2 separate regions of the Homo sapiens genome follow, and region 1 is linked to region 2. Evidence: promoter capture Hi-C in human tissues and cell types (Jung and others, 2019). All regions are on one chromosome and are shown on one strand. Each heading gives the region's core, a stretch centred on a gene start or on the middle of the fragment in contact. The rest is flanking DNA. Distances are from core to core; before and after follow the strand shown.

What was found. The method cuts DNA at HindIII sites, captures the fragments that hold promoters and counts their contacts. A contact is called where the count stands out against the background at its distance.
Region 1: a contact is called between a fragment that was not itself captured here and the fragment with the promoter of ALG10B in region 2, in 1 of the 25 tissues and cell types used here (lymphoblastoid cells).

Annotation. Positions count from the first base shown.
Region 1 is chr12:39,114,180-39,118,031 of GRCh38, reverse strand. The region is part of intron 1 of LINC02406 (long intergenic non-protein coding RNA 2406); the gene reads left to right. Among named protein-coding and RNA genes, the nearest start is that of LINC02406, 29 kb to the left of the region's middle. The HindIII fragment of the contact is 4,376 bases long and covers 1-3,852 here.
Region 2 is chr12:38,315,157-38,318,730 of GRCh38, reverse strand. ALG10B (ALG10 alpha-1,2-glucosyltransferase B) reads right to left here and starts at 1,957. Exons shown (of 3, transcript NM_001013620.4): 1 at 1,667-1,957; 2 at 273-470. The coding sequence starts at 1,837. RefSeq lists an enhancer at 1,687-2,886. The HindIII fragment of the contact is 10,698 bases long and covers 1-3,574 here.

The sequences.
Region 1 (3,852 bases), core at 679-3,178, 800 kb before region 2:
GCAGAAGGCAGAAGGAGAGACTGAGGCAAGTTTTAGAGCAGGAGTGAAAGTTTATTAAAAATTTTTAGAGCAGGAACAAAAGAAATGAAAGTATACTTGGAAGAGGACCAAGCAGGTGACTTGAGAGATCAAGTGAACAGTTGGACCTATTGAGTTGGGGTTTTATATGCTGGCATACTTCCAGGGTCTTGCATCCCTTCTCCCCTGATTCTTCCCCCAAGGGAAGGGCTGTCCATAAGTGCAAGTGGGCCTGCCAGCACTTGGGAGGGGAGCATGCAAAGTGTGTTTACTAGAGTCGTATGCATGCTCACCTGAGGTGTTCTTCCCTTACCAGTCAAATATCCCTAAGGCATCATATACCACTTAACCTCTGCCATTTTTCCTCTTAGTGTGCCTGTGTGAGCCCACTCACCCAACTCCTCAGATCTTATCGGGAAGCTACTGATCACCAGTTTCAGGCTTTTCCTATGTATTGGGAGCCTGCCTTTCCCTGGTGCTGGCTGCTACCTATTATTCTTTTAGAGAAACAGTTAACAACCACCAGACCATCACCTGATGGTTTCCTGACATTCCTGGTTGGGGGTTGGGGGTTGCGGGGAGCCCTCTCCTGCCCTGTTTGTGTCTAACTAGCTGCCTACTGTAACAGTGCCGAAAATGAGTCTAGGAGAAAAGTAAGCTCAGAAAGAAACACAAAGAGAAAACTCAGTATATTCTTGTGAGACAGAAAAGCTTTTCTTTTCCATTAGAGGAGTGAGAGGGCAAGAGGACAGATCTCATGTCAGCATTTTCTCTTTCACAGGTCCAGCTTTGAATGAGTTTGATGTGGCAGAAACTTCAAATACATATCGGAAAATCAAGAATGCTGGAAATCATGCTACGCTTTCCTAGGCACAGCCTGAGGGAGGCTGCAGGCCTACAGGAGAATTGATGCACTTGGCTCAGTGCCACATCCAACATTAATGGAGGGAGAGTGTGGATTTGAGGAGGAGAGAGACTAAATATATGAGCCTGAGGCTATACTCTTGGCTCCCTATGGCCTGCAAATGAAATGCCTGGGATTGAGAAATGCCTTTTTATTCCAGTAGAATAGATGCAAAAGTGCTGAGAGGATGAGGAGAGCAGTGGAGGCCCCAGACCACAAGAAGTGGGAACTTCAAGGCCAAAGGCCAATGCCACACAACCTCATCATTTTATTTTCACACTAGAGTGTGTTGTGAGTAAAATTTGCATCTCCATTGCAAAACATGTTAAAGGAGAGTGCTGTTAGAAAATAGAGGCCGGAATATTTGCACATTCATTCTTCCTTTATTCCAAGTGTTTGTTGAGTACTTAACATATTGGACAATGGGCTGATAGCCTTATTTTCTATATCTCTTTTAAGAGGAGAAACCATAAAGATACATTTTAGGGAAAGATATGTGCATATCCCTCTGACTTCTCACTCTCTTGGTAGGAAGATATGTCTGTAGTGTTTCTATTCATAGAAATGTAATTCAAAAATTCAGCCAATAGTTATTGAGTGACTCCTATACACCAGGTGTTATGTTAGGTCTTGGGGAAGAACAATGATGAACACTATAGAACAGTGTTTGCTTTCCTTCCAGGCTAGGATGGAAAATAGTACTTAAACCATTGTGATACAGCCTCATAAGCATTGTGGTTGGATAAGTACAGTGTGCTAGAAGAGCATCTATGGCAGGCCCTGAATCCACATTTATACCCCATCTTCAGGAGTGGTTATGTTACTGTTAAGAGACTTGTACTTTACTTAGAAATTCTTTCATTTATGTAATAGGTATCATGTGTGGAATATGTAGGCTAAGGTACAACCCCACTCAGTCATATGACTCCACTCACATGTCAGAGGGCTGAAAAGAAAATGTAGTCTCTGGTCAGGAAGATGCCTTCAATAACTACCTTCGATAACCAATAACCATGTGGAAGGGCAGCACAAATATTTGCTGGGTAGTTAGCTCTCTCTGCTATATAACCTGATAATTGTTTATGACCAACTGCTTTAAGTAAGTTCCTCAAATTAGGCTTAGACAATGTCTTTGTCCATTGTAGTTTGCCAAATCACAAAATTTAGAAGAATCAATGTAATTCCTTTATATGACCATTAAAATATTAGTGTCAGAAGTCTAGGTATGCTATGGTTAATATAATTTAAATTAATTTGTAAACGTGACAACTCCATCAAAGGGAGGGCTGTATATTGAAAAAAAAATGTTTGTTAACCCCAAAAAGCCCATCCAAAAATAGTGAGATGATTCTTGTAAAAGGCTTCTGCTTTAGATTTGTAAAATTAGCTTTTTCCCATTGTGTATAAAAATGATATATCTTTCCATTCAAGGAGAAAAGCTATTTTTGAGCTCTGTGATGGATATCCTCTTTCAAATTCAAATAACTAATAACAGAATTGTGTCTATTGTATCAGCCTGGAAATAAGCAAGAAAGAGATGGCACCACCATGCTTACTATTGATGAACTTAATAGAAGGACTCTACAAAGCTTTGAGACAAAATTAGGAGCATCAACAAGGGATAGTGAAACACTTTGAGTTTAGTACAGTTAAGAAGATATTACTTCCATGCTTGCAGTAGCGATGGGAGGGAGCAGTGGGAGAACCCAAGACAGAGAGGGCTAGTAAGTGGAGACCACTATCTGGAGTGGCAACTGCAGATAACCAGCACAGCTGTTAATCAGATAAGCTAAATTTCACCTTTCATTACTTCATCTTAATGTTTCCTCTCAACCTCAGAGAAGGAATAATAAATGGCATAATGGTTAAAGGCACGAATTCTAGAGCCAGACTCCTGGATTCAAATCCTAGTTTTGCCACTTTACTTAATGTATTTGTGCCTTAATTTTCTCATCTGAAAAATGAAAATTTACCTCTTGTTGTTGGAAAGATTAAATGGGTTACTATAAGTAAACTCTTAGAATGCTATCTGACATATTGACAAATGCTATATAACTTTTACCTATTTTATTGGGTCTTTATTTTGATAATATACACAAACAGCAAGTTCTCATGATGAATCAGTCAGTTTTGAAGTCTATTAGCCTTGGGTAGACTCTATGAAGTGAGCAGGTTTCTGTCTGCCCACTCTCTTTGGAAAACCACCCCTCCCCCATTCTTAGGTCAGTCACATGGTTTAAGTTAGGCTGTCCTTTTGCCAGTGAGTGCTCACATACACCTTTCTAGGATGTTGACGAAAGACTTCAATTAAGCTAACTAGACATATTCTTTTGATTATACATAATCCATAATTACACTGGATCCTCTTCACTGGGATGGTTACCTGTCAGGATAATCTAAACTTGGAATTGTTTGTAACCATCTTTCCATTCTCCCTGAGAATGAAGACAGCAAAGAGGAAAGAAGGGGAGGAAATGGAGAATTTATAGTTGCATGAACCAAGAATTTCCTCATCTTCTTATCTTGTAGTCCAAGTTGTGTGTTGTATTAGTCCATTTTGTATTGCTAGAAAAAGGTACCTGAGGCTGAGTAATTTATAAATAAAAGAGATTTATTTTGCTCACAGTCCTGCAGGCTGTATGAGCGTGGCACCAGCATCTGCTCAGCTTCTGGTGAGGCCTCAAGAAGCTTTCAATCATGGTCAAAGGCAAATGAGGAGCAGTCATGTCACATGATGAGAGAGGGAGCAAGAGGGAGATGCCAGGCTCTTCTAAAAAACCAGCTTTCATGTGAATTAATACAGTGAGAACTCACTCATTACAGCAGAGAAGACACCAGGCTGTTCATGAAGGATCTGCCCCCATGACCTAAACACCTCCCACTAGGTCCCACCTCCAACACTAGAGATCACATTTCAACATGAGATTTGG
Region 2 (3,574 bases), core at 708-3,207:
ACATGGAATAAGCTCAGTAAGTATTTATTGAACTGGTTTGACTCACTTAACAAATATTTACTTTAGAGTTTACAAATAAGTTATTCAAGTATTTAAATACAAATTTATTCTAAAATGGAGATGGAGAATTTAAATTTACCTTTACATAATATACAAAAAATACAAAGTTACAAAGTGTTAAAGACATTTTTCACCAAATCTCATAAAACTAATTCATTGTAATTGTGGACCTGACTACACATAAACTTGTAATTAAGTATTTTGAAACATACCTTGTTTCTGGGTTGTACCTTGTGGAAAAGCAAATATAGTAAATAGAAGTTGCCAACACTGAAGAGAAGATTAACAAATCTGAGCATCCCAATGGAGCAGACAACATGTTCAGACCATGCAAAGATCCAAATGGCAGGTTTGACCACTCCAACTGACACCAGGTACAAGCCAGGTAATGTAGTAATCATGGGATCCCACTTTAAAATGAAAGAAAATGAAGTAAAAGCAAGAGGTAATACGAACAAGACAGACACAAATATGTCAAGCCCAAGTCTCATCTCCAGCAACAATCAGAAATTTTGAGAAGTTAGTCTATGACAAGATTAAGTAAGTCCTTGGCAGAACAGGATTAGTTTTTCTTATTTTTTGCCCCCGGACCAGCTTAGTGATGGTTCAGGTAGCAGCAACCAATAAACAACAACTTAAAATCTATTTCTATTTTCCAAGAAATGTTCTTTAAAAGCCTTTATTTTGATAAATAAACTGCAAATGCTCCAGTTTTTAAAAGCATGGAAACATTGTTTGGGACTCTAAGTTTAGGAAAACATTTGGACCACAGGCTCCATGATGACAGCTGACATAAACTGAGACAGAAATTGTGCCAAACCCTCTGTATTGTAACATTACAATATGCCCTATAGTAAAGATTATTGTCATTTTGCAGATGAGTAACCTGAATTTCTGAAACTCAGAACATCTCCAAGATCACAAAACTAGTAAATCACAGCACCAAGATTTAAGATCAGATCTTTCTCTAAAACAGACTTTATATTTCTAGCCAGTACCCTATATTGTGTCACCAGAAAAGCAGGGGATGTTTATTTTGATATTTATATGTACATACTTGCACAGTCAAATATATATTCAAAAATGATGTGACTTGACTGGTTGCCAGTTTATCCAGTCAACAGATAGTTCACTAAAAATACCCAGGGAAGGAATTTGTGATTATAAATTGTCACTTTTTGGTAGCCGAAGATCCCTCCAGTCCACCCTATCCCACCCCTAAAATGCACAGTGAGGTGCTTAACAGGTGAGCTAAAGGGAAGTTTTCTGATATTTCCAAGGAGCACCCGAATGCCTTTAATCCTGAGACAAGGAAAAACAAAGTGGGATCGATATTGTCAGCTGCCAAGAGGAGCGCTCAGTTCCCCACTAAGTATTCTCCCAGATCACTCCTCCCTGGGGATCAGATCTGCTGTTTATTCATTCATTTAATAAATATTTCACAGATCTCAGAGACAGGAACAAAAGACTATACCCAGTTTCTTTCATGTTCTGAGGCTGGGGTGGGGTGGAAAGGGACGAGTTAAGTCTAAAGATGGGAGAAGGAGCTGGGGACGCTGGGACCTTTCAGGCCTCTCCTGGGGTGGGGACAGGTTGGGCACCCCACCTGGGAAAGGGAGAAATGGCCCTCACAGTAGCGCTGCGCCTGAGGCAGGTGGAAGATCTCGTCCATGTAGGGCTCTCGCAGCGCCCGGCTGAAGGCGGAGAAGAGGAGGCAGGACACTAAAAAGGTACAGCTCAAGGCGGCCGAGAAACAGTAACCCTCTAGCTGCGCCATTCCTGCTCCCACAGCCACTGCCCAAGAACCCACTCCTGGAAAATTCTGAGCCCGGAAACCCGAGCTGGAAACTTGGGCTCGAAATGGGCGCGCTAGACAGGACTAGCCAGACGGGGCCACATACCGGAAGGCAAAGGATGCTGGGAGAGCGCGGATCCGGAAAACAGCGGGTCGCTGTTTCCTGGAGTGACGGGTTTAGATAACGGACCGGATGATTACCCTCTCCATCACATTACTCGGGGCGCACAGTGTCAAAACTTCCGGAAAGGGCGGGTCTCGGATTTCGCGAGCGCGGGAGGGGCGTGGCTTGCTGCTTTGGAAAAAAAAAAAAGCCGCTTCTTAGCTTGGATCTTTTTTCCTGCTCATTTCCATCACTTACCAGAAGGTGGCGACGTTTCCCCACGTTTCCAATTCCAAGCCCTAAAATTAACACATTTTTTTCCCCCGTTATTTCTTTTCTTTCTCTCCAGTGATCCGAATTAATTAAACCCTCAATTCCAAGACATTTCATTCCATCAACCTTGGAGTGTAGGAAGGGGGCGTTGGTTGTGATAGCAAAGACTGAGACTTTCAGATGAAAACTTGAAGAACCAGAGACCCGTCAATGCCGAATGAACTTCAGTGAGAGGAGTGTTTGTTCGTTTGTTTGTTTGTTTAGGTTAAGAGAGAACTCTTTCAAAATGTGGATGCTCTCAGAGGATTTAGTAAAATTGACACTCCTAGTGCACTCTCATAGCCATATTACCCTGTAGGATTTGGAAGAAAATATATATTTTAGAATTTGGGATGTTTTAGGTGTGCCTGTAAATTAGGTTGTTAATATTTATAAGGCAGCCTTCTGTTTTTCCTACTAAATCATAAGCGTGAACATCTTAGTGGGTGGCATTATACATCCTTTATGTTTGTAGTCCCCCAAATGGCTTTCACACAGTAGGCACTTAAATTTGTGGACTTTTATAGGCTGTGTAGACATCATCAAATTCCTGTATTCTGGGATTAGGTGTTGGGGGCAGGAGATGTGGTAAATAATTTGAAGAATGCCGAAGATAAATTATGTGTTGGAATTTTGTCTTGAGCATGGTTGGCCATGTTTTGTAGAAAAACTTTCTCTCAGGTAACCTCAGTCAGGTTGCCTTTGGCAGGCATATATCAGATTGAGTCGGGATTTAAGGTTGCAAACCTCAGAGTTCTCAATTGAGCTCTTTTTCTGGGTTAAAAATAATTCAGTATTTCTGAACTTAAGAAAGTTTCTTAAATCAAGCTGACTGCCTTTCCAGTCTGTCTCTGCCTGTTTCCTCAATGATAAGAGGAGGTAGTGGTGAATGAGGGCTGGGACGGGAATATTTACATTACTGGAATAAAATCATGTCAGGATTCTACTCTGATGTGATGCTTAGCTTTGCTTTAACCATCATCTCCCATTTTATTATTGATTCCATGCTGTACTTATCTGTTTAAGTCACTTGTAACACATCTCCAGATGATTCAGTCTTCAAGAGGTTGATGTGATCTACGAGTAATTAGCCCCTGACCTATTGACCTGCTAAATCGTGTTATATATACTCTGCAGCTTACTGACCCACCCTAGAAATAGTGGGCCGTTTTTAAAGGGAGTAGAACAAGACTAGACATTTATGCTCTCCATTTTTCTTCATAACAATTGCCACCAATAGTTTATGTTAAACATTTGACTCCTATACATGCTGCACACATCGCTTTACATAAAATGGAAAGTTT